Linked DNA regions of Homo sapiens: all the other regions are linked to region 5. Evidence: promoter capture Hi-C in 16 types of primary human blood cells and fetal thymus (Javierre and others, 2016). All regions are on one chromosome and are shown on one strand. The core of a region is centred on a gene start or on the middle of the fragment in contact, and the rest is flanking DNA. Distances in the headings are between cores, read along the strand shown.

Region 1 (3,838 bases), core at 1,338-3,837, 670 kb before region 5:
AGATTACACAGGCACCCAACCTCTGACCAGCAATCCCAATTCTAGGACTCCATTCTGCAGATGTACCTGCAGACTATTCATTTATTGTGGCATTGTCTGTAAAAGCCACAAGACTGGACAACTCAACAGTTCGGCAATGGGGGAAATTGAATAAACAATGGTACAACCACCAGATGGAATACTATGCAAGCTTTACTTTACAAAATACTATGCAAGCTTTACTTTACAAAAAAAGACTAAGAAGGGTCTTTGCCTACTGAGATAAAGAAATCACTATGAATATACATTTTAATGAAAACTTGCAAGGTAGTAAGCAGAGTCTATATCAAAAACACCTTTGTTTGGGGATGGGGTGGAGTACGATAAGGATCAAGGCAAGATAGAAGAGCAAAACAGAAATAAGACACTTCTGACCAATAGTTTTAATCTTCAAATCACGTAAATTCATTACCCATTCAGCAAGCAAAGCTAAATTTTTTAAAAAGGAACTAAAAAAAAATTATTTGCAGTAGGTATAACAACTTGTCAATACCCTCAATATAAAAAGAGCACTTACAAATCAAGTAAAAAAGAAAAAAAAACCACTAAAATCCCAAAACAAAATGGGGAAAGGACAATAATAGACAATTCACAAAAGAAATACTACAAAGACATGAAAAAATGTTTTAAAAAACAGTGATCAGAGTAATGCAAATAAAGTCACCAAATGCTATGTTTTATCTACCAAAGTGGCAAAGAATTTAACATGCTGATACATTTGGTATTGTATCACTGTAGATAAAGTGGATGTCCACTGTCATACTTTGAAACCTCTCTCAATCTGTATCAGGAACCTTAAAATTATTGAAATACAGCAAATTCAATTTTATGAATTTATCCTAAAAAACAGGTATAAATAAAAACATATAGAAATAAGTTCCTCCCAATGTTATTTACTTTTTGAGACAGGGTCTCACTCTGTCGTGCACGCTGGAGTGCAGTGGCACGATCTCAGCTCACTGCAACCTCCGCCTCCCGGATTCAAGCAATTCTCCTGTCTCAGCCTCCCAAGTAGCTGAGACTACAGGCACACACCACCATGCCCCGATAATTTTTGTACTTTTAGTAGAGACGGGGTTTCGCCATGCTGGCCAGGCTGGTCTCGAACTCCTGGCCTCAAGTGATCTGCCCGCCTCAGCCTCCCAAAGTGCCACTGTGCCCAGCCCAGTGTTATTTATAAAAGCAAAAACTTTGAAACAAAGTCCAAGAAAAGGAACTAATACAATAAATTTTAAATGATACAATCAACTGCATTTTTACTACATCTTGAAAAATTACTTAGCAACATGCTAAAATGCTCATATATATGTGAATACAAAAAAATAAAATTTAAAACAGTTTAATCTATATTTAGAGAGATCATATGTATTATTTTAAATACACATATACTTATCTATAATGAGAAGGCAAGTAAGAGAATACGTATATTCATAGGGAAAAAGAACTAAAAACTAAACCAAAAAATATGAATTTAGTTTGACGGTAGGCATTACAGATTATTTTTATTTTCTTTATATGGTTCTATATTTTTCAAATTCCACAAAATTAGATGCATTGTGATCAAGAAAATAAAACAAAATTCTATTTTTTAAAGGCCACAATTTGCCCCTTCTTCATTTCTCAAAAACTATATAACCCAGAGGGGACAAAGATCAGAACTCAGCCACATAAATAACAAATAAGCACTGAAGTCAGTTGTATAAACTAAACCCCGTGGTTTACAAAAAGAGGGAGGAGGCTGGCCCTGAAGAGTCCTGAGGAAAAGGGTGGCACAGTAAGAGGTCTGGAGGCCAGGGACGTGACATCAACAAGACATCATCACAAGGGAAGAAGCTTCACATGAGGAGGGTCTGAGCTAGAGCCACAGAGCGGCATGGAGAAGAGGAAAGATGTTTATGAGACAGGAGGGTTTCATGATGAATTGGATGCAGAAAGTCAGGACAAACTCAGAATTACCAAAACATAAGGACTGGACAACTGGGTGGAGGAAGGGGCCATTCAATGACAGAAAAAAGAGAAAGAGGAGTTTGTGTCACTTACTGTGTTTGAGTCTAACATCGCCATTATTCCTAATGCATCTCATCCAGAGTTGAGATCTGCCCACTAGCAATATCTTTTCTTCTAAATAGGTCTATCTGTACTGCAAACATTTTCCTCTCTCCCACCTCTCCATAAGCATCTTAGCAGAATTAGTTAAGTCCACTCAAAGCAAATATACAATATTTCAAAGTCTCTGCTGACAGATAACAAAGCAATCATTATATTTTATATAAATGGCTACTAAGAAATTCATTAAGAAAACCATTTTTTATAGTTTTCAAAGACTTTATTAAATTATCTTTAATCTCACCTCTGTCCACAATGAAGTTCCTCGTCCTAAGGATTCCTCTTGTCTCAGAGACATGAGAAAAGTTGAGACATCAGAAAGTGACACTTTCTCCTGGGCAGGGCAGGAAAGGTTTTAAAAATTACTCGTATTAAAATGTTTAATTGAATAAACTAAAACCACTGTGAAGGCAATCAATTCTACTACTTAAAGTAGGTTATCATTAGCTAAATCAAAAGAAAGCAAATATCATTAGCTAAATCAAAAGAAAGCAAATAAAAAGAAAATATTATTCAACTTTTAACATAAAGATACCATGTTAACTTAAAATTGAGGTTACTATCTTAAAGACAGTCACAATCTTAAAAAAAAAAAAAACACCATTCTATAAGAAGAAATTACTTTCAATCAAAATGTGAGGACAGGCGCGGTGGCTCACGCCTGTAATCCCAGCACATTGGGAGCCCGAGGTGGGTGGATCACCTGAGGTCAGGAGTTCGAGACCAGCCTGGCTAATATGGCAAAACCCCATCTCTACTAAAAATACAAAAATTAGCCAGTTGTGGTGGCAGATGCCTGTAATCCCAGCTACTTGGGAGGCTGAGGCAGGAGAATCACTTGAACCTGGGAGGTGGAGGTTGCAGTGAGCCAAGATCGTGCCATTGCACTCTAGTCTGGGAGACAAGAGCAAAACTCTGTCTCAAAAAAAAAAAGTGATTATTTTCAATGCCATAAAAATGAGCCCCTGACTCAGAAAACCACCTAGGTCTTTCATTCCCTTAAGGTTGTACATCTTGAAATAAGATACCTTGGCTCTATCTAGGCCAGGCATTGGCAAAAACTATTCACAGCCTGTTTTGTAAATAGTTTTTTTGGAATATAGCCAACGCCTGTTTATTTAGTTCAGAAGTTGCAACACAGATCATAAAGCCAGCGGCAAAGCTTTAAAAAAGTTTGCTACCTGGCACTGCACAGAAAGAGTTTGCTGACCCCTGTAGTAAGCAATATTTACTGAGGCTTTGTAAAAAGCACAGGATACACACCATATATATTCCTTGAATGTCGATACAGGGGAAGATGAGGGGAAATGTAGAGAGGGAACAAGGCATACGCTCCAAGAGTCCTCTCCCAGTGGGCCACCCAGGACACACTTAGCTCCCCCAGCAACAAGCTGTGACAACACAGTGAAAGTCTGTCTACCAGGGAAGCTCAATGGAGACTCAGTGCCTCGGGCTTTTCCTGGGACGTGGTCATGCAGGCACCTTTTGCCTCATACATACTGAAATTCCAGACTCTCAGAAAGAAAGCAGGTTTTCAGCATAAACCACATTGAACAAACACTTTAGATACAATAAGCCACTCTTAGCAGTTAGGATAGTGTAAATCCTCCCAAAATCCAAGGTCCCAGTGCCAGCCAAGGACTATTTAGAGAGATCATATGTATTATTTTATTACAAGCACATTTATTATTTT
Region 2 (3,944 bases), core at 1,197-3,696, 720 kb before region 5:
TACTGAGATTTTTAAAGTTATTTTTTAAAAGTGCGTTTTATTGCTTAATAAAAAATATGACTGGAGCCAATTGCTTTTAGAAATCAAAACACAGCTACCAACAAATTTAGAATAGGATCAACAACCAGGATCGAAATGTCTCAATACCAAATAATCACTCACCATCGAATCACAGAGACAGCTACAAGCTGACAAATGCCTATCTGCGTGTTAAATTATGGCAATTCCCTCAAACTCCCTTCCATTAAGGAAGGGCTGAAAGTCTATGGGGTAACTATACCCTCTGTCCCCTGGTTACCTATCTCTAACCATCAAACACAAACAGCACGTAAGTTCATTAAATTACATAATAAAATATGATTAGCAGCAACTTTGGTAGCTTGAGTTTGGATTACTGCATGATAATGCAAATGCGATCCTGAGAAATATTAATGTTCAAATCTACACATGTAAACTCAGCCATGTATTCACCAAATAATAGGAAATACACCATACACCAAGGAGAAATAAGACATTTAAGGTCCCTTGAAAAGATCAAGATTTTTAGTTTTCAGAGGACAGTTGGAATTGTAGGGGTCCCTGGCAATGCTACAGTGAATGACTAATTTTGATGACCAGCCTTTGCTGGGCCAGGCACAGGAAGGTCATTCTCCAGTATACAGAACTGTGCACGATGTACCAGGAATCCATTCCCGCCTCTGCTCTCTGTCCCTCCTCTGGAACCCATCTCCCCACAGCTAACTCTCTTTTTCTCCTGCTACTCCCCTGTTTTATTTCATGCTATTTACTTTTTTCTCCATTTTAGTATTTATTTGTATTTATCAAATATCTTTCTCCCAAGCCCCTAAAACCTCCCTTACCCACTTAATGCCCAAATGCCTCTTTTCAACAAATGCATCAAAAGTGAAGGGAGGTAGAAAGGTACATTGCGGGCCAGGGAGGTACCCTCGCCCCAGCCCCATATGAAGCTACACAATGACTCAGTCTTATTTGTACCATGTACAAATAACTTAATGGTCACGACCAAGACTTCTACATGTTACTGGTTTTCCAAATGCTATTTCATTTGCCTATTATGCTGCTTCCAACACTTAACCATTTGTGTATATAAATTAGTGGGTGCTTTTTCAGCTTTTAAGATGAAAAATCTTTTATGTTGGTTGATATTGCCTGTGTCTCTAAAATTTAAAAAAAAAATCCAGAATTCCTGGATGGCAATAATCTATGATAATAATAAAAAGGCAAAACAGCACCACCTCAGAGATAAGGAAACAAGCGCAGAGACCTGGAGATGCTTATGACACTGCAGCCTGCTTCTGCACCGTGACAGGTGCGGGGAAAGAGAGGCAGACATGGGAACCACCGTGGGGGCTTCACAGACACTGGGTCCTGCACCGCTCCCTCACCCCATCCACGTCACTTGCTTGATACTGAGCTTCCATGTATGATTTTGTCTGCGGAATAGGAGAGTTCTCTTAGAAAAGAAAAAAGCCTTTAGCTATAACTAGTATAGCTGAGAGATTAAAAGTATGTCTTTAAAGTCAGGTCGTGCCACTTCTAAGCAGTTCTCAAACAACAAAGGATGACATTTAGCTATACTGAAGAGAAACAGGTACAAGTATGTAGAAGATTATTTGTACAATAAAGGATTGAGGATAAAAGGGCAATAAGAGGTCAAGGTGGAGCTGACAATGAACTGTAATTAACTACACCCCAAAGTGAGCTGCTTAGGCCTGGCCCAGTCCAAGCCCTCGATGCTCCAGGACGGCAGCATGAGGATGTGGAAGGAGAAGCTGACACAGTATGGGCACTGCCCCCTCCCTGTGGGCCCTGCTGGAGGAGAGTGAGGGCGATGAGGTTGACGAGGGCTCCTTACCCTGCTCCGTGCATGCTTTCCACTTGATGGAGGCTGGATTCAATCACAGGAGTCAGGGCATCAAATTCTTCAACACTTAACACTTTACACACAGTCCAGAGTTTCTTAAGAGCAACTAAAGCATACAGTCGAACACTAAAATTGTGATTGAAACACCACTGCAGCACAACTATAAGGGCTTGCTTCAGAATTAGTTTCTGAAAAGAAAGGCAAAAAATTCCTCAAAACACAGACATGGACCATTTTACTCTCACTTGTATGACACAAAAAAAGTACACGAATGATACAACTGCTCCTAGTAAAACTTCTTCCACTGGCTTTGCTACCAGGGCCTCTCATTCTTCCCTCCTGGTCAAATGCGGTGCACAGGCATTTGCAATTTACTCAAGGAAAAACACATTCTCCCAGCTCTAGTTTTCATTAATGCTGCAGTACATTTCCCCCCGCCCCCCATACTCTAGTACCTGAGTTAACTTGAAAAAAGTATGTTTTATGCTAACCATTATACAACCAAAATGTTTTTCAAATGGAGCCTCCATCTCCTATTATCTTAATTTGTGCTGAGAAAGTCAGAAATAGTCTTCAAGAGTCCCACTTCTGATGGCTTGAAAATGCTCCTAGAGCAAGATACCACACAAAGTGCTGTCCTCCTCCTCACTACTGATTTCTGAGCTACTCTGTCTTCCCTAATGGTGATCCTGGACCCACACAGTACTGAGTAGTGGCAGGAAAATTAAGAAATGAGGGGGAAAATAATAAAACTGTTTAAATTTCCTTGTAGTCTTTTCCTGTGAACTTTAGTCTTCACAGCCTGGAGATGTCAAGCAATCCCTTGCTTTCTAAAATCACATGGTTCAACAGACACTGAAGGTCAAAGGAAGTGACATATACTAATGAAGGAACCAGACGGACCCAAACTTTTAATGAAATATCAGAAGCTATTTTGATGCTCCTACCAAATGCACTTCTCCCCTAAGGCTCACATGGAAATGCTTACCGGCTGCGCCTGGCAGCCCAGTTTCTACTGACCAATTCAAAACAACCATATTCACACAATAGTTTACCAAAGGCATCAGCATGGCTGATAACACACTTGTTACTCTAAGTTTCTCTGAGAAGGATAAAAACAGAGATAAACAATCCTCTTTCTCTCATTCCTTTACTCAACATGTCATCAACATTTATCAAAGGTCAGTGACTGTACTGCCAACATTACAAGGTGTGATGTTATGATATACACTGGTTTTTGTCCACAATTCCTGTCTTATAACTCCCATAGCCCTTGTTACAGTCTTTTGTTATAACGATCCCATATGGAAGGAAGTCACTTGTGCAGCCCACACTGAAGGAGTGAGAAGTCACGCTCCCCCTCCCTCAGGGCAGAGCTTCTATAAAAATTACTTGTAATTTTTTTTACAAGAGATTTGTCTTGTCCATCCTTTTTTTTTTTTTTGAGATGGAGTCTCACTCTGTCGCCTAGGCTGGAGTGCAGTCCTGCAATCTTGGCTCATTGCAATTTCTGCCTCCCGGGTTCAAGTGATTCTCCTGCCTCACCTCCTGAGTAGCTGGGATTATAGGCATGTACCACCATGCCTGGCTAATTTTTGTATTTTTAGTAGAGACGGGGTTTCACCATGTTGGCCAGGCTGGTCTCGAACTCCTGACCTCAAGTGATCCACCCGCCTTGGCCTCCCAAAGTGCAGGATTACAGGCATGAGCCACAGTGCCTGGACTCATTTATTGATTCAATCATTTATTTATATCGGTGTGGGCTCGAGGATATTTATTTTATTCTTTGGGTTGTGATCCAACACTGCTTTATTTTGTTGCTCACACTGTTTCAGCTTCAGCCACTGGGAACATCTTCCCTCTGCATGCCCATCTCACATCACTGTATGTATAAAGTTCTGCCTTGCTCTCTGACTCTACAAGATGCTCCAGGCTCATCTTGTATACTTTCTGCCCTAGTTTTAGAATCAGCTATTTCTCCAGCGATCCCTGGTTCGTTTTATTGGAGAATGGTGTTAGCAACCAAGATCTTGGAGCTAGGTATACATTACTCGTAAAT
Region 3 (3,997 bases), core at 895-3,394, 660 kb after region 5:
AAATAGGAACACTTTTACATTGTTGGTGGGTCTGTAAACTAGTTCAACCATTGTGGAAGACAGTGTGGTGATTCTTCAAGGATCTGGAACTAGAAATACCATTTGACCCAGCCATCCCATTACTGGGTATATACCCAAAGGATTATGAATCATACTGCTATAAAGACACATGCACATGTATGTTTATTGCGGCACTATTCACAATAGCAAAGACTTGGAACCAACCCAAATGTCCATCAATGATAGACTGGATTAAGAAAATGTGGCACATATACACCATGGAATACTATGCAGCCATAAAAAAGGATGAGTTCATGTCCTTTGTACGGACACGGATGAAGCTGGAAATCATCACTCTCAGCAAACGATCGCAAGGACAAAAAACCAAACACCGCATGTTCTCACTCATAGGTGGGAATTGAACAATGAGAACACTTGGACACAGGAAGGGAAACATCACACACTGGGGCCTGTCGTGGGGTGGGGGGAGGGGGGAGGGATAGCATAGGAGATATACCTAATGTAAATGACGAGTTAATGGGTGCAGCACACCAACATGGCACATGTATACATATGTAACAAACCTGCACATTGTGCACATGTACCCTAGAACTTAAAGTACAATAATAATAAAAAAAGAAACAACAAAAAATATAGTAAATTTTATTATAGTAAAAACCTAGAAGTTTCTGTATTCTGTTTCAGAAGCTATAATTGACTAATGAAACATAACATTGTAACTGAGATTGAGATGCATTTTCTCAAAATGCTTCCTACCTCTGTCCAGAGACCCATATGGAGATTTTCCCATGAATCCTCCTTTTCCCTTGGGGCTGCTGTAAGTAGGTGAGTACTAAATGTTGCCATTTGCTTGGGAGGAAAATATTCTCCTGTGATTCAACCTGTGCTAGTAAAACAGCTTTCATGTCATCATTTGAATCCATGCACACACTACAGAAAAAGAGAAAAGGCATAGGCTGAAAACATGAAAATTCTGACCTCAGTGTTTAACATACATATAGTAACTATAATTCTAAATAAGTAAGATTAAAAATCAGTTCTATTTTTTTTAAAGTGCTTGAAAAGTCAGTAGGTCTTCGTTTTATACCATAAGTTACTTAGTTATTCTATCATTACCTCAATTCATGAACTAAAATAGATTAGGCTCATTGGCTGGTAGTCATAATTTAGGCAATAATGTTCAGAATTCAGTTTGTAAAAAAATATATATTATTACTATTTATATAGCCATTGCCCATTTAGAAATTACAATGTATTATTTGGTTCATAGAAAAATTAATATAAATGTCTAAGTATTGGAGGTCTAATCTACTTTGTGGGATTACTGAAAGAATGAGGAGATAATGTACATAAGGCACCTAGTAATGTTTGTAACGTTTACAAAGTATATATTCCTAAATAACATACTGGTTTGTTTAGATTTGAGTTTTAGACAAATAGTATCATACTATTCATACTCAATACAAATAAAAGACCTGTATCTATACTACTTAATAAAGGAGATAGTATAAAAGGACAAGATAACAAGGAGAACCCAAGCTTATTAGGTAATCGCTATTAAATATATAATGCACATGGAAAACTTATGTCTGTTAATAACATCTTAAGACCATTACAATCTGATAGAATATTTCCATAGCATAAGACTTCAGTATTTGATCTAAAATCAAACAGAGAATTAATGTATTTTATTTACTCATTTATTTTTTGTTTTTATTTATTTATTTATTTTTTGAGACAGAGTCTCACTCTGTCACCCAGACTGGAGTGCAGTGGCGCGATCTGGGATCACTACAACCTCTGCCTCCCAGATTCAAGTGATACTCCTGCTTCAGCCTCCCAAGTAGCTGGGACTACAGGCATGCACCATCATGCCTGGCTAATTTTTGTGGTTTTTTGTTTTTTTGTTTTTATTTTTATTTTTTGTAGAGATTGGGTTTCACTATGTTGGCCAGGCTGGTCTCAAACTCCTGACCTCAGGTGATCTGCCTGCCTTGGCCTCCCAAAGTGCTGGGATTACAGGCATGAGCCACCACACCCAGCCGAGAATTAATATATTTTAGACTTTATGGATTTTTGGATAGAATAATACACTATTATAAAAGTGGTATTAATAGCTGTTAGAATGTATATATTTTTAAATGAGACTTTTTGTTTTGCTATAATGAACTTTTATTAGTAGATTTCACATTAATGTCTCTTACACAAATTATTTAAATACATTATCTATTCATGGGAGGCTGAGGATAATCAATACCGAAAGATAAGAGTGGCATTGTGGGGATCAGCCCACACTTGGATCATCAACGCTTTGGATCCCAGTGAAATTATATGAATACATCCTTCTTCTATGAGTCTTTCACCAGGATTTATGTACTCTGCACCTTCTGGTCTGTCGCTCTCTATAAGAAAAAGATGTTAGAATGATCAGTAAAATGGTTCGTAACAACTGAGTAGAAAAGTGAATTTAGAAGAATACAAAGCAAATTTGTTCATTTGTAGTAGGTTATCTACCCAGAATGTCTGAGCCTGACCTGTTCTAAACAACCATATTTTCAGAGTATAGATGTTAACTCCAAAAAAGCACGAGGGATGAAAAATGGTAATTCAGTACTTTAAAAGTTATTAGATATTAAAAAATGTATAATAACTGAGGACAATTGTGGGCGTAACCAGACCGCTATGTGACAACCTATTACAATGTGTACCAAGCTTCTTTTATCAACTATGACTTCACTGACCCTGGTCCAGGGAGCACACATCATTGTCCATGCCTCACACTACCAAAACTCATTCTAGAATTATCACAATATGGCATGATTTAAAAAAAAATATCATATTACAAATTTTAAGGAAAAACTCTAGTGTTTGAATATATTCATAATTTATATTCCCTGGTGAGTAGTTTTTGCATATAATTGCTAAGTGATTCTGAAACTCTAATGTTTCTTTAAGGCAAGCTAGGGTAAATGCTTACAGGCTTGGGCTATCTGGTTATTTATCTTGACTCCTCTTCCTCATCTTTGAAAACCCAGCACTGCCTGAAGATGTATGATGATCTACTTGTCATTATAATACATGTGACTTTATGTAAAGCTATGTTATGATATATCAAAATCCAAAATACATGTCCAAAGGCTCAGACTTTTAAAGAACACTACTGCTTATTAGACTGCATACATATTAGTTGCTATTTTTCAACAGGTAAAACCATGACCGATGTTAAAAAAATACTCCCTGTAGCGATGACAATAGTTTTAAAAAAGAAGAGTTAAGGTCACTGATTATTTTGAGGCTGCTGACCAAGATATATGATATACAGAGAACTCACATCTGATGTGAAATTTTAAAAATGTTCCATACCAAATATGAACTTCTGCAAATAAAAGAGTAGGACAAAACCAGTGTGTACCTAGGAATTATAGAGTAGTAATATTACAAATATTTAACTTAATGCTCACAACCATCTTATAAGGTAAATATATATAGGGTGACAAAATTGAGGTGCTGAGAGGTTAATTTGCCCAAAGGCACCAGTTAGTTTAGAGGTAAAAGGTATGATATCGCAGCAAAATATTCTTTATCTCTCTTCAAAACTTTTTATATATGTCTACTATTTTTAAGTGTTTATACAAAATCATCTTTCTAAAATATGTTTTCTAATATATCCTTAAAATAAAAATTAAGAAAAAACTTTCCAATATTTACTTTTCTCAGGTCACTATGTATATTTATTCATTTTATAAGAGACTGTTTACATTGAGATTGCCTCCATTAAAACATGAGAAAGCAATCTGCATAGCTTATAGTATAGTAGCAATGTTAAGGCTCTGGAATTAAAAACAGGTGGGTTTCAATTCCTTTCCATCACTTACCAGCTACATAACTTGGTCATGCTACTTAACTTCCTCTAAAAATACAGATAGTATGAGCACTTACTAACTTGTTAAGATTAAAAATGTATATAGAACCAGCT
Region 4 (3,775 bases), core at 705-3,204, 840 kb after region 5:
CAAGATCACGCCATTGCACTCCAGCCTGGGCAACAGAGCAAAACCCTGTCTCAAAAAAACAAACAAACAAACAAACAACAACAACAACAACAAACCCTTGGGGAATATTATTTGCAAAATAGACAACAAAAGGTTAATTAGCTTTAAAATGTAAAGGACACTTATAAATCAGTGAGATTCTCCCAATTAGAAAAAAGAACTGAGGACTAGAAGGACAATTGACAAAAGAACTTTAAGTGGCTAGTGTGCATTTCAAAAGTTTACCGCAACTTAAAGAGTGTAATTTTTTTTCTTTTTAGAGACTGAGCCTCAGTATGTTGCCCAGGATGGGCCTCAAACTCCTAGCTTCAAGCAGTCCTCCCATGTTGGCCTCCCAAAGTGCTGGGATTACAGGCGTGAGTCACTGCAACCAGCCAATAATGTAAATTTTAATAAACAAACACCACCTATGTAATTGGCAAAAATGAAAAAATAAACTATGCAAAGGCAAAAACATAGGTAAACGGGCCCTCTCCAACACTCCCGCTGGTGGAAGTATAAAGTGGTACAAACTTTCTGTAAGGCAGTTGGGGAGTATCTATTGAAAGTCTTAAATTTTTAAATAATCCTGAGTTGAAATTTATCCTAAAGATATTAATAAGGACACTGAGGGTCGGGCGTGGTGGCTCATGCCTGTAATCCCAGCACTTTGGGAGGCCGAGGCGGGTGAATCATGAGGTCAGGAGATTGAGACCATCCTGGATAACATGGTGAAACCACATCCCTACTACAAATATAAAAAATTAGCTGGGCATGGTGGCACATGCCTGTGGTCGCAGCTGCTCGGGAGGCTGAGGCAGGAGAATTGTTGAACCCGGGAGGCGGAGGTTGCAGTGAGCTGAGATTGCACCACTGCACTCCAGCCTGGGCAACAGAGCGTGACTCTCAAAAAAAAAAAAAAAAAAAAAAAAAGGACACTGATATTAGTATGTGGGTGTTTATTGGTTTATTGTTATTTATCACATCAAAAAACACATAGAAACACCCTAAAAGTTCATCAATAAATGAACTGGTGAGAGTTTATTGTCCATATAATAGAGTATGATACTATTATGTAGTTGATCAAAGTAATGTTCATATGCACATTTATTTAAATGGAAAACAAAAATACGGAAAAGTATCACAGGATCACATTTTTTGTTATATATATATCTTACAAAAATATATGTAAAAGTATTGTGTGTGTGTGTTTACAACATTTCTGGACAAGATTGTAGTGATGAGGCCATTATTGAGTAATGAAATTACTGTTATTTGTTTTTCTTGTGCCTTTATTTTCCAACTTTCTAAATGAAAATGTGCTGAATACAAATAAATAATAATGTAAGATAAAGTAAAAATAAATTTTCATTTAAGGTATTTCTTAAAAAGGGGGGTGAGGAAGGGTATTTAGAGTAAACCAAATCTGGAACTGGACTCTGCTCTGACGGCGTGACCTTTGCCAAGTTACTTCACCTCCTTAACCCTCAGTTTCCTGACTTACTCAATGGGCACAATAAATTCTACTACATAAGGTTATCCTGAGTTAGTTTTCCCATTTCCATCCAGCTAATAAAAGCTTCTTGCTGCACTCTCTCTCCTGAGCCTTCTCCCTTCTCTGATCCCCTTAACAAAGTGGTTCGAAGCAATCATTTAGCATCACCTGTTATTACTACCTGCTTAGTGACTAGACGCCCACTTATTTGCAAAAGCCCTGCATTTTCTGGAATTAGCCTGCTATTCCGTGTTTTCCACTTAGATTCACTCAGAACCTGGTCCATAAGGAGACGTATGCACTTTTGCATACACAGAATACACTCAGGAATACTTCTGTGTTTTCGTACCTCGGTGTAAGATGCTGAGCCCACGGCTGGGGATCTCGTGTGACGAATGTCTGCAAATGTTTGAGTAAGGAGATGACTTGGGGAGGAAAAGGGCTGGGCTATTTGGTGGAAATCTGAATTTAGATGAAGAGGCTTGACCATAATTGGGAAGTTCTTTTGCTAGCAGTTGGGCAACTCACCAATATGAAGAAAGCTCTTGAGTGGGACGATGGGAAGGCCCGAGCATAGCTTCTTTTGGGGAAGTTATCCGGGTAGCCAGGCCTGGGACGCTCCCCGCGCTCCGCCCTCACTTCTCTCTTCCCCCAAAAACAGGCATTGAGAGGCTCTTACTGCCCTCACGTGGCCCCTTCTGGAACTGTCTTTGAGGAGACCCGCCCAGATTTAAACTGAATCACGGGGGCTGGAGAGCACACACGCAGGCTTGCCAGTTAAGCTCATCTGTCCCCACTTAAGCTTCTAGCTACCAGGAAGCCGCTCTTCGAGCCTGTTTTCAAGCCTTTTTGGCCCTTCCGTCTCTTAAGTCCATGTTGTCTGAGCAAAGACCCTTTCTCCGTTGTAAGGAATTCTAAATCCTTTCGGCTGCAGCTTTCAGCAGCGCCTGGCATCCTGGCGGATGAGAAAAAGGGGAAAAACAGCAGCCCAACTTGAGAACCAGAGCTGGGCCGTGACGCTGCTGCGGGGGACTCTGGGTCCCGTCTTCCCCGCTTTCGAGACCTGTGGTCTTCAAATGTGCTCGATAGTACACTCCCTAAAAGAATTTTTGCAAAGTCCTGTTTTTCCCTGTTAAATCAAGTTTAGCTTAAAGCTACTCACATATTTTAAGTTCAGCCTAAAGGTTTCTCTGTGCCTGTAACCTAAAGGGAAGTGTAAATAGTCCCTCTCCCCCTTCACCCTCTCCTCTCCCGCTTTCTGTTTCTGCCTTATCTCTCTGACTCTTCTGCCTCCCTCCTCTGTTTTTAAGGGCCTGCCTGGATAACCCAGGATAATTTGCCTGTTTTAACGTCAGCTACTTAGTCATCTAAATTCCATCTGCAAAGTCCCTTCAGAGCAGTACAAAATTAGAATCTTGAAATCTTTAGAATTCGGCCAGCCACAACAACGATCAGCATTTTGCCAACCTTAGGTATCCAGGAGTTTTTGTTTTTAATTACAGTGATTTTTAAAAAACAGCTTATTTATTTATTTGACAGGGTCTTGCTCTGTGGCCCAGGCTGGAGTGCAGCGGCATGATCATAGCTCACTGTAACCTCAAACTCCCGGGCTCAAGCAATCCTCCTGCCTCAGCCTCCTGAGTAGCTAGGACTACAGGCACTTGCCACTACACCCGGCTAATTTTTAAAAGATTTTGTAGAGATGGGGGTCTCACTATATTGCCCAGGCTGGTCTCAAATTACTGGCCTCAAGTTGTCCTCCTGCCTCAGCCTCCTAAAGTGCTGAGATTACAGATGTGAGCCACTGTGCCCACCCAAAACAGCTTTATTGAGATATAATTCACATGCTATGTAATTCACCCAAAGTGTACCTGCAATGGTTTTGGGTATATTACATTATTAATTTTAAAAATTGTAAAATATGTATATATCATGAAATTTGCCATGTTAATAATTTTTTTTTTTGAGACAGAATCTTGCTCTGTTGCCAGGCTGGAGTGCAATGGCACGATCTCAGCTCACTGCAACCTCCGCCTCCCGGGTTCAAGCGATTCCTCTACCTCAGCCTCCTGAGTAGCTGGGACTACAGGTGCGCACCACCGCACCCGGCTAATTTTTTACATTTTAGTAGAGACGGGGTTTCACCATGTTGGCGAGGATGGTCTTGATCTCCTGACCTTGTGATCCGCCCGTCTTGGCCTCCCAAAGTGCTGGGATTACAGGCGTGAGCCACCGTGCCCAGCCATTAATAATTCTTAAGTG
Region 5 (3,594 bases), core at 636-3,135:
GTAATCATTAGGTTGCCGCTAAATCCAGAAAAAACAATTTTAGATTGAAAATGATGGAGAAGTTATTTTGAAATAACATTCCTCCATTTGTCTAAAATGATAGCTCTTGTTTCTGCAACAGGACTTCAGGGTTTCCAACGGAAGATAGGGTTAATCCATTCTTTATAACTCTGCATTTGTACCAAAGCCCCCAGCTGTCACCCATTTTGGCAACTACAGGACAATAACCCGAAGGCAGAATGACCACCAGCATTTATGGAGGAGCATTTCCTATGTCAGAAAACGTGGAAGGCAATTCAAACATCTCAACCTTCACAAGATCAACAAGAGGTAGGTGGCATTACCTGATTTTACAACTACAGAAATTAGGATTCAGAAACCCCAAATTATGCCGCTAACCTGGCCCTAGAAATTCAAGGTCTGAATGTAAAACAGTATTCTATTAGTCTGCCTAGTCATAAATCAAATTATGTCTATATCCCTTCCCTCCTAAAACATAAGAAAGCTGGAACTAGATGTCTGATTCTTAGTGCTAGTAAGATCAGCGCTGCAGTCACTGCTCACACAGGGCTACTGAACACTTGAAATGACTTAGTATAGCTGAATTAAACCGTAACCACTGTTACTTAAGTAAACAATAATCCCTTCTTTGTACCCCTTGGGCTTTAGTAACTTACGTATCAATTTTAATTCCAAAAACTAATTTGGCTGAACAACCAAGATAAGCCAAAAAATATTTCTTATTGCAACAAATTTGCTCTTCAATGATGCGAATGAAGATTCTCCGAAAATTCAAGGTGGATCACAACGGTTTTCATGACACGATTCCCCTCTGGTAGACCTCTCTTAAAAGATGTCGCAGGTATGAAATAAGACTGAGCCACGGGAGAAGCGCAGCCCTTTGGACTCCCCTGCAATTTCTATAGCATTCACTCATATCTTGGAAGCACTTAGAACGAAGCTACCAAGAGGGTTTAAGAATGCAGCAATGAGCCAGGCGGATCATCTGAGGTCAGGAGTTCGAGACTAGCCTGACCAACACGGTGAAACCCCGTCTCTACTAAACACAAAAAATCACCGGGCGTGGTGACGCCCGACTGTAATCCCAGCTACTGGGGAGACTGAGGCAGGAGAAGCGCTTGAACTCGGGAGGCGGAGGTTGCAGTGAGCCGAGATCGCGCCACTGCACTACAGCCTGGGCGACAGAGCGAGATTCCGTCTCAAAAAAAAGAATGCAACAATGATACTGCACTGAGCATGCGGATTTAGCCTCAGACTAAAATTTGCGACAAAAATGCACGACTTTTTAGTTAAGAGTAGAGGTTTAAAAAGATGAACGACAAAAAAAGAGACAACCTCCTCCCCAGGCCACACACACCCGAGATTGCAACAGAAATCAAGAGTGCATTTGCACGGCTAAAGTGTCTGGGGAAAACAAAACGGGAAAAATCCTTCCTCCAAAATGGAATTCCTACGGGGCACTAGAGCCCCCGGAGCGGCGCAGCCAGCGCCATCGCCTATTGAGGGCCGCACCACGCGGTCGCCCTGCGCGGCCCACAGGCTGGTGGGAGGCAATGACCCCTCCTGTGAAGGGCGGCGGCCGAAGGCAGCAAGCCTGGCCAGGGGAGAGAGGACCCACTCACGTTCTCGAAGCCTGTTCTTGAAGTTGGGGTCACTTCGTCTTTTGCGGTCGAAGTAGATGCAGTACCCAATGAAAAGGGCCCCGCATACACCGGCGGCGATGGCGCTGTTCCGACCCACCATCTTCTCTACAACGCTGAGCGTGGACGGTGGCGGCAGGGACCGCGAAGGAGCGGTGGGCCACGAACCCTCAGAGCGGTCGGCGCAGCTCACACCCGACGGCCGCGGGCCAGGAACACAGAAAGGCCGAGCACACGCCACTTCCGGTCCCAGTCAACTAAGGGCCTCGAGGTCGTCCGCGGCAGAGCCTGAGCAGAGGCCCAGAGCGCGGCTCCTGCGCCTGCGCAGTGGGCGAAGCCGGCGTTTCCCCTGCGCCGCTGGGTGTACGCACTGGAGTCGGGAATTTGCACGTGACCACGGACTTTTTTTCATATCCGCCGACCATGCTGTAACGAGGCGTACGCGTTACTGGCGTGCACGTACTCAGAAGACTAGCTGACAGCCTTGTTTGTGGCAGACAGAGATGCAGGGTCCCAGACTGCGAATGCTTCATCTTGTCTAACACAGGCAGCCTGTGACTTGTTTGAATTAAACTGTACTTTCTTTTCAGGTTGCCACAATCCATTGTGCGTAGTGGTTCCATTTCAAAAGAATGTTACAGGATAGCCTCATTTTATGATAACTGGAATAAAATTAAATGGAGTAATTTCTTGAAAAATATACACAATTGAAGAAAAAATAGAAAACGTGAATTGTTTTATAGCCACACGAAAACATACACATGATCAGGCCAGGCGCGGTGGCTCACGCCTGTAATCTCAACACTTTGGGAGGCCGAGGCAGGCGGATCACTTAAGGCCAGGAGTTTGAGACCAGCCTGGCCAACATAGTGAAACCCTGTCTCTACTAAAAATACAAAAATTAGCTGGCCATGGTGGCCGGGGCCTGTAATCCCAGCTACTCTGGAGGCTGAGGCGGGAGAATCGCTTGAACCAGGAGGCAGAGGTTGCAGTGAGCCAAGATCGAGCCACTGCACTCCAGCCTGAGTGACAGATCAGGAGTCCGTCTCAAAAAAACAAAATATATATATATATGATCTAACTTAAGATATTGACAAGGAAAATCGTGGGCAGAAAGCAGGCATTAAACAGACACTGTAAGTTGAGGGGTATCGAAGTCAAGCATCAGTGTCAAGAGACATTGGAACCAGAGCTACCTTACCTTGAATAGGGGCTGGGTAAAATGAGGCTGAGACCTATTGGGGCACATTCCCAGGAAGTTTGGCATTCTTGGTCACAGGATATTTACAGGGAAGGGAACAAGTTAATAATGTTTACCTAACAGACCCAGGAAATGTCCTGATGTCCTGATATCTTAAGAACAAAAGCATTCTTAGTTTAATTTTCCCTTTAAAGATAATATTGATCCTTGCAGAAGACAGTAGTTACACAGGATTAACAGTCCTTTGACAAAGACCAGGCAGTGTCTCACACCTGTAATCCCAGCACTTTGGGAGGCCCAGATGGGCGGATAGCTTGAGCCCAAGAGTTCAACACCAGCCTGGGCAACATGGTGAGACCCTGTCTCCACAAAAAAATTAAAAACTTAGCCAGGCGTGGTGGCACACACCTGTGGTCCCAACTACATGGGGAATGATGCGGAAGTATCCCTTAATCCCAGGAGGTTGAGGCTGCAGTTGAGTTATGATTGTACCACTGCAGTCCAAACTGGGTGACAGGGTAAGACCTCGTCTCAAAACAAACACACAAAAAATCCTTTGTCACAAGCTCTTGGAGTAGAGCTCATCTTCCTCATTTTTTTGCTGTTCAATACAAACAAGCCTTGTACCTAAGGTGGACATGTTCCTTCTCTTGCTTTAGGGTATGCACCATTCTACAAAGTAACCTTTCACTTTTTTTTTTTTTTTTTTTTTTTTTTGAGACAGTCTTGCTG
Region 6 (3,697 bases), core at 446-2,945, 690 kb before region 5:
GGCAGAGGTTGCAGTGAGCCAAGATCACACCATTGCACTCCAGCCTGGGCAACAGAGATTTCAAAGTTCCTCTCTCAGTAATAGATACAAGGAATAAATAGAAAATCAGCAAGGATATGGAACTAAAAAACACCATGAAAACTCTTGGATATAACTGACATTTATTGAACACGTCAGCCACTAGTAAAATAATATTCTTTTCCAGAGTACATGAAACATTCACCAAGATAGGCCATATCCCACATAAACTTAAAACAATTTTAAAAACTGAAATCATATGATATATGCTCTGCGACCACAATGTAATTAAATTAGAAAGCAGTAACTAGGAAAGTCTCCAAAGATGTTCTAAATAATTCATGGGTCAAAGAGAAAGCTTCAAGGAAAGTTAGAAAATATTTTGAGATGAAAATGCAACATGCCAAAATTTGTGGGATATAGTTAAAGCAACACTTGGAGGAAAATTAATAGCACTGTCATTTCAGAAAACAAGAAACGTCTAAAATCAACAATCTATGTTTCTGCCTTAACACTAAAAGGAAAAAAAGGCAAAATAAACCAAACCCAAGCAGAAAGAACCAAACAACAGAAATCAATGAAATTGACCAAAAAAAAAAATCTATAAAAAAAAAATCAATGAAACCAAAAGCTGGTTCTTTGAAAAGGTCAATAAAATGATAAACCACTAGCAAGCCAGAGACAGAGACAGAGAGAGAGTGCACATGAGTAAGCACGCACACACACACACACAAATTATCACTATTAGGAATAAAAAGACAGAGCTTACACTACAGACCCGACAGGCATTAAAAGGGTAAGGGAATACTACAGACAATTCTACTGCCCCTATTCACAGATGACATGATTATCTACAAAGAAAATCCCAAGGAACCTTCAAACAAACCAACTCCTAGAATTACGTCCTTCAGCAAGGTTACAGGATACAAGGTCAGCATACCAAAATCAATCATATTTCTATATACTAGTAACACACAGTTAAAAATTGAAATTTTAAAACTATCATTTACAACAGCTTCCCCTCAAAAGAAATAGTTATAAATCTTACAAAACCTGTGTAAGATCTATACGCTGAAAACTGTAAAACTGATGAAAAAAATCACAGACAACCTAAGTAAATGCAGAGACAGGCCAGGCGTGGTGGCTCATACCTGTAATCCCAGCACTCTGGGAGGCTTAGGTGGGCAGATCGCCTGAGGTCAGGAGTTTGAGACCAGCCTGGACAACACGGCAAAACCCCATCTCTACTAAAAATACAAAGATTAACCAGGCATGGTGGTGAGCACCTGCAGTCCCAGCTACTTGGGGGGCTGAGGCAGCAGGATTGCTTGAACATGGGAGGTAGAGGCTGCAGTGAGCTGAGATTGCACCACTGTACTCCAGCCTGGGTGACAAAGTAAGATCCTGTCTCTAAATAAATAAATGTAAGGAAATACCATATTCATGCATTAAAAGTTTCAGCATAAGAAAGCAATTCTCCACAAACTGATCTATGCATTTAATGCAATTCCAGTCAAGATCCCAGCAGGACTTTTTTTTTGTAGGTACATATAAGTTGATGATATAATTTATATGGAAAGGTAAAGGAACTAGAATAGCTAAAAATATTTTTGGACAAAAACCACACTACCTATTTTAAGACTTATTATAAAACTACAGTAACCAAAACCTTGTGGTATTGGCAAAGGAATAAACACTTAGATCAAAAGAACAGAATAGAGTCCAGAATTACATCAACACAAATACAGCCAAATTAATTATTTGTCAACAATTTTTTGGGATAGAATTCACAGAGCATTCAATTCCCCCATTAAAGGTATCTAATTCAATAGTTTCTCGTACAGTCACAGATATGTGCAACTATCACCACAATCAATATTAGAACATTTCATCACCTCAAAGAGAAACCTCATACCCTTTAAATCATCGGGCCCTTAACCCCTATTTTCTCCCTGCCCTAAGCAACCCCAATCTATTTTCTGTCTCTAGAGATTTGCCTATTCCGGACATTTCATTTAAATGAGATCATATAATATGTGGTCTTTAGTGATCACCTTTCCCTTAAGATAATGTTTTCAAGGTTTATCCACGTTGTAACATGTATTACTACTTCATTCCTTTTTATGGCTGAGTATGTATAAACCACATATTATCCATTCATCTACCCATCTACTTTGGATTGTTTCCATCACAGCCAATTAATTTTTGACAAAAGTACAAAACAATTCAACAGAGAAAGGATACTCAGTCTCTCCAACAAATGGTGCTGGTGCAACTACACCAGCAAAGGCAAAAAAAACTAACCTTGACCTAAACCTTACACCTTAGAAATTAACCCTAAAAATATCATAAGTCTAAAAGTAAAATAATAAACGAAGGAGAAAAATCCTGTACGACCTGGGGCTAAGGCAGAGTTCTCAGTCGTAATACCTACTGCACGATCCATAAAACAAAACAAAAATAAACTGGATTTCATCAGAATAAAAACTTTGGCTCTGCAAAAGACACTGTTGAGAAAATGAAAAGATAAGCTGCAGACAAAAAGAAAATATGTGCAAACCACATATCTGACAAAGGACTAACTTGGCAGAAGATTTAATAGACACTTCATAAAATGCTGTATCTATCACTCTGAGAAGTGTTCATTAAGAGATTACATACATTAAAAATTAATTTTAAATTTTCATGTTACCCAGGGGCTATATTATATAGCCTCTGGAGTATCTCATGAGTCACTTGCCAGGTCAAGAAGCCACCAGCAAATGATTGGAAAGTAAAAGCCTTTATTAAAAAATTAAAAACTATAACCAATGAATATGGGAAAAACAGAATACTCTTGTCTTGCATATTCCATACTACTCTTTCTGCCTTTTCTTTCTCCTATATATATAGTCAACTCCTTAAATATCAAACTTACATTAATAGCATAAAATAGATTTACTTTCCTCATATATAATCAAACCCATTCAATTAAAATAAATTTGAGATTTCAAGGGAAAGCTTAGGCCTTGGAGAAGAGAGAACAAAAAGACTTGAAGAAAAGTAGCTGCCTTCAAGGTATCCAATATTATCATCCCTACCCCAGTGGCTCCTCTTAATTACCGCAATACAGAACAGCCTCTATCTCACCCTCAAGGCACATTCCCTGGTCACTGCCACATCTCTGAATTTAACACCCTGTCACAATATACAAACTGTGGGCAAAAGTTCAAGCCAGAATAAAAATTATGGTTTGGGGCTGGGCACAATGGCTCATGCCTGTAATCCTAGCACTTTGGGAGGTCGAGGCAGGCGGATCAGCTAAGGTTGGGAGTTTGAGACCAGCCTGACCAACATGCAGAAACCCTGTTTCTAATAAAAATACAAAATTAGCCAGGCATGGTGGTGCATGCCTGTAATCTCAGCTACTCGGGAGGCTGAGGCAGGACAATCACTTGAACCCGGGAGGCAAAGGTTGCGGTGAGCCAAGATCGCACCATTGCACTCCAGCCTGGGAAACAAGAGCGAAACTCCGTCTCAAAAAAAAAAAAAAAAAATTATGGTTTGGTTTCCTAGTCTATGCCTCATATAATGTATAGTAGTAAACTGAATCCCAACAGAAGTGGTACCAGAATTAGTCAAAAAGCAATCACAGTCAAAATCATGATGAAGTAGCACTTTATACCCATTAGGATGGCTA
Region 7 (4,020 bases), core at 517-3,016, 760 kb before region 5:
GCCACCACGCCTGGCTAATTTTTTGTATTTTTAGTAGAGACGGGGTTTCACCCTGTTAACCAGGATGGTCTCAATCTCCTGACCTCATGATCCACCCGCCTCGGCCTCCCAAAGTACTGGGATTACAGGCATGGGCCACTGGCCTCTTATTTGTCTTTATCCCCAAGGCCAACCATGGAGGCTGGCACTGCACAGATGCATAATGTCTGTGAAATGGATTGGCTATGTAAATACAGAGCAGGGAGCATAAAAGAGAACTGGAAGGCTTCTAACGGGAAGACAAAGGACTTGTGGAACTGATGAAAAAGAACAGCTTAAGAAGAGCAGCGCTTCTAGAGAGAAAATATCGAGTCCAGTTCTGAACGTCTTGGAATGATGGAAAGATAAACAAGTGAAGATATCCAATAGGGATGTGGAACAAGAAAACTGTCACAAAGGTTCTTTTAAGGACCAAAACATAGTCTTGCAAGTCTTTGTGACAGAAGTGCTAACTGAAACTATCAGAGTGAATTGACTCACCAACTAAAACAATGCAGAGAGAGAGAGAGGAGAGCAAGAGAGAGAGAGAAATGAAGGGACAGCATCTTGGCGTATACCTATAGTTAAGGGGGTTGAGGAAGGCAAGGAGACAGCACAGAGATCTAGAAGAAATTCAGAAGATCGCTGTAGCAACACTGAAGTCAAGGGAATCGTTCTCCGGTCTGTGCCCGTGAGTAGGTGTCTGTGATAACTGCTTTGTAACAGTACAGATTATAAATAAAAGTCTGTGGGCAGCAACAGAAAAACAACACATACATTTTCAGTGCGACTGGGTCTGTCTGGCCCTGCCCACCAGTGGTTTGGGGATCTACTTCGTTCCGACTAGAGAGCACCCACTCAAAATTTCCTCTGGATGGCAACCCAGCACAACACGTCTTCCACCTCTTCACACTGACTCCTCCTCGCCTCCTCTCTCCTCCAAACATAGGCTGGGTGATTACACCCTCTTTGTGTCAAAACAGCACACTTGAAATCATTTTATGGCACCCACATTGTTCCATTTTAATCTTTAAGATTTTGTAAGGTGAAATGGTCTTTGCAATTGTTATCCTGTGTTAATTTTCTTTTTCTTATTGACACCACAAAATTCCTCTCTTCTAGTTTGTTTTTGCTCTGTTAGTAAAACCAGCATTTCCCAACTGGCGAACTAGACTTCTTCAGGGGTAAGGTGGGGAATGTTATTGCAACTCACTACATCTCTCTGGTAATATCTTCCTTGTCTATCCCTTAAGCTTACCACAGACCACTAGGAATTGCTTAGGTGCACGGTGGCATTTAGCACTAGAGACCACTAACTTTTGACCTCGAAGAGCACTTAAGATACTAAATTCATTAAAAATTTAGTAATAACACTACAAATATTCTGTGTGACCACTATTTTTACCTTTCTGTAAATCAAATTTATTAAAGATGACCTTCCTCAGGTCAATTACTCATTTTATTTGTTTAGAAATTGTGAGATATACATTCCTATGGAAAAGTGAATAAAACATATATGTACAGTTTATTTAAAGAATAATTATAAAGCGAACACTCAGGTCCATAAATAAAACATTCTCCGCATCCCAGGAGCCCCACCATGTGCCCCTCCCTGATCATATCTCCTTTCTTACCCTAGAGAGGAACATTTGTGATAATCATTTCTTAGCTTTTCTGTATAGTTTTACTACTTATGACTGTTATTTTAAACAATATAGTAGAGTTCTGCCCGTTTTTGAACTTTATGTAAGTGGAAATATTCTGTATTCATTGGTTGTCTCAGTATGGCAATTCACCATGTTATTGTAAATAATCGTTTGTTTCTCTTTGTTGCTGTATTATATTTCACAGTATGACTATACCATAATTTATCCATTCTATTGTTGATACAAGTTTGAGTTGCATAATGGTTTCAGCTATTAAAAAAATGCATATGTACAGGAAATTCTGTAGAGTTGCTGAGTCACAGTGAATGTGTATCTTCAATCTTACTAGATAATTCAATCTTACTAGATAATGCCACACTGTTTTCCCTGATTGTATCAACTTATGCTACCACAGTGTATGAGGATATTCCTTGCTTCTTCCTTAAAACTTGTTTCTGTCAGACTTTTAAATTATTTTTTGATCTGCTGGGTGTCTAATAGTACTGCATTGTTATTTTCATGTTCCTTTCTATAGTTACTAATGGGAATGTTGGTCCTTTCATGTATTAGTCATTTGCATTTGGTGCTGTGCCTATTTAAGCTTTTTGCCCATTTTCAAAATGGGCAAGTCTATTTCTTATTGATTTGTGTTATTTGTATATTCTGGATACTAATCCTTTTTCACTTGCTTCATGGTATTGTTTGGTAAACAAAAGTCCATTACTTTTATGTAGCCCAATATTTTTATGTATGTAACACATCTTTTTTTTTTTTTTTTTTTTTTTTTTTTTGACGAAGTCTCTCCCTGTTACCCAGGCTGGAGTGCAATGGCATGATCTCAGCTCACTGCAACCTCCGCCTCCTGAGTTCAAGCAATTCTCCTGCATCAGCCTCCTGAGTAGCTGGGATTACAGGCACACACCACCATATCCGGCTAATTTTTTGTATCTTTATTAGAGACGGGGTTTCACCATGTTGGCCAGGCTGGTCTCGAACTCCTTACCTCATGATCCGTCTGCCTCAGCCTCCCAAAGTGCTGGGACTACAGGCGTGAGCCACCGCACCCGGCCACATCATTTGATAATTACTGAGACTTTCCTTTATGGCTAAAAATTCCTCTTAACCTAAGTCATAAAGATTTTTTCTTATATAGGTCCACATAACTCACCTGAAATCCCTGGAGCCAGATGTTTGAAATATAGACTATTTTAAATATTAGAAGGGTAGTATGAAACATACAACATATATTGTATAATATTCTCAACAAGAACTGGGACAGTACCCATAATGAAATACATTAATATTTCTACCGAAAAGCATATGCAGTCACCTAAGTGATAATAACAACTATAAAGAGCCTCATGTTACTTTAAGTCGTATTTTTCACCAAATGAGTTCCAAAGTGTGTGGTGTTTCAGAGGTTTGGGGATTTTATAATTAGTACAAAAGTTATGGTAGCCTTATTCAGTAAGAATGGAATGATTTCAAAGTTTGTAGGAACTTACTGGTGGAGCCACGTACCTGGGATTTGTGTGTATGAAGATTCTTCACTACTCATTCAAATTATGTAATAGTTTCTCTACTTTTGAGTTGTTTTTCTTGAAGTTTGTACAGTCATCTAAATCTTATTTGCACTAAATTGTTTACAAGATTATCTAACTTTTTTGATGTCTATAGTATTTCTAGTTTCCATTCTTGATAAAGATTGTTGACATCCCTCCTTTTATAGCTATTAGATGTTTGCCAATTTTAATTTTTCTTTTCCAAAAAAAATCAACTTTTGGCTTCTTTCAACCTATTCTATGCTGTGGTGTGCTAGTGAGTTAGCTCCAAACATAAAATCCTGGCTTGTTGATTTCCATAGTGTAAACAGTCCCATCATGGTTGACTTCAAGCTACTTATTTGAATTGGCTCCAAACATAAAACAAAATCCTGGCTTGTTTGTTGAGTTCCATAGTGTAAACAGTCCCATCGTGGGTGACTTCAAGCTACTTATTTGATGTTATTGATCATGGAGTTGCCAAGAGGTGTGCACAATTGGCTCTCCTATGCCAGTACAGGCTGGCTCTGGTACACCACTGCTTTTATTTTCCATTTCGTTAATTTCTGCTCTTAACATTATTTCTGTCCTTCTATTTTCTGTCTTATTTTGCTGTCCTTTTTCTAACTTCTTGAAAAGGGATTTTCAGCTCAAGACTTTTCAGACTCTTCTAATACACTTACTTATGGCTATAAATGTCCCTGTAAGTGCTGCTTCAGTTTCATCCCACAGGTGTTGCTATTGTTATTTTATGGTTCAGTTCAAAATATTTTCTCAATACCATTGACTCTGTCTCTGTGTTATTCAGGCTTGTT

The links. The method cuts DNA at HindIII sites, captures the fragments that hold promoters and counts their contacts. A CHiCAGO score of 5 or more calls a contact.
Region 1: a fragment that was not itself captured here is called in contact with the fragment with the promoter of TOMM20 in region 5 in 5 of 17 cell types (total CD4 T cells, erythroblasts, naive CD8 T cells and 2 more); the score reaches 8.4 in total CD4 T cells.
Region 2: a contact is called between a fragment that was not itself captured here and the fragment with the promoter of TOMM20 in region 5, in 4 of 17 cell types (neutrophils, erythroblasts, naive CD4 T cells and 1 more). The highest score is 11.1, in neutrophils.
Region 3: a contact is called between a fragment that was not itself captured here and the fragment with the promoter of TOMM20 in region 5, in 1 of 17 cell types (monocytes). The highest score is 6.0, in monocytes.
Region 4: a contact is called between a fragment that was not itself captured here and the fragment with the promoter of TOMM20 in region 5, in 1 of 17 cell types (fetal thymus). The highest score is 5.4, in fetal thymus.
Region 6: a fragment that was not itself captured here is called in contact with the fragment with the promoter of TOMM20 in region 5 in 4 of 17 cell types (erythroblasts, M1 macrophages, M2 macrophages and 1 more); the score reaches 7.4 in erythroblasts.
Region 7: a fragment that was not itself captured here is called in contact with the fragment with the promoter of TOMM20 in region 5 in 2 of 17 cell types (neutrophils and erythroblasts); the score reaches 9.4 in neutrophils.

The regions. Positions count from the first base shown.
Region 1 is chr1:234,455,278-234,459,115 of GRCh38, forward strand. TARBP1 (tRNA guanosine 2 -O-methyltransferase TARBP1) reads right to left here. Exons shown (of 30, transcript NM_005646.4): 9 at 2,390-2,479. Among named protein-coding and RNA genes, the nearest start is that of TARBP1, 22 kb to the right of the region's middle. The HindIII fragment of the contact is 1,435 bases long and covers 1,871-3,305 here.
Region 2 is chr1:234,404,027-234,407,970 of GRCh38, forward strand. It overlaps TARBP1 (tRNA guanosine 2 -O-methyltransferase TARBP1), which reads right to left. Exons shown (of 30, transcript NM_005646.4): 24 at 1,877-2,073. Among named protein-coding and RNA genes, the nearest start is that of COA6-AS1, 32 kb to the left of the region's middle. The HindIII fragment of the contact is 6,487 bases long and covers 1-3,944 here.
Region 3 is chr1:235,786,423-235,790,419 of GRCh38, forward strand. It overlaps LYST (lysosomal trafficking regulator), which reads right to left. Exons shown (of 53, transcript NM_000081.4): 13 at 2,279-2,423; 14 at 778-951. Among named protein-coding and RNA genes, the nearest start is that of MIR1537, 65 kb to the right of the region's middle. The HindIII fragment of the contact is 1,173 bases long and covers 1,559-2,731 here.
Region 4 is chr1:235,969,720-235,973,494 of GRCh38, forward strand. LINC02768 (long intergenic non-protein coding RNA 2768) reads right to left here and starts at 2,792. Exons shown (of 3, transcript NR_183724.1): 1 at 2,042-2,792. RefSeq lists an enhancer at 2,331-2,380. The HindIII fragment of the contact is 718 bases long and covers 1,596-2,313 here.
Region 5 is chr1:235,126,952-235,130,545 of GRCh38, forward strand. TOMM20 (translocase of outer mitochondrial membrane 20) reads right to left here and starts at 1,886. Exons shown (of 5, transcript NM_014765.3): 1 at 1,644-1,886. The coding sequence starts at 1,764. It overlaps SNORA14B (small nucleolar RNA, H/ACA box 14B), which reads right to left and starts at 986; the gene lies at 852-986. It overlaps LOC105379283 (a long non-coding RNA gene), which reads right to left and starts at 1,250. Exons shown (of 2, transcript XR_949295.4): 1 at 678-1,250; 2 at 1-18. RefSeq lists enhancers at 1,614-1,833, 2,064-2,163. The HindIII fragment of the contact is 4,902 bases long and covers 1-3,594 here.
Region 6 is chr1:234,439,755-234,443,451 of GRCh38, forward strand. All of the region lies in intron 12 of TARBP1 (tRNA guanosine 2 -O-methyltransferase TARBP1), which reads right to left. Among named protein-coding and RNA genes, the nearest start is that of TARBP1, 38 kb to the right of the region's middle. The HindIII fragment of the contact is 2,642 bases long and covers 375-3,016 here.
Region 7 is chr1:234,367,987-234,372,006 of GRCh38, forward strand. No RefSeq gene overlaps it. Among named protein-coding and RNA genes, the nearest start is that of COA6, 3.5 kb to the right of the region's middle. The HindIII fragment of the contact is 994 bases long and covers 1,270-2,263 here.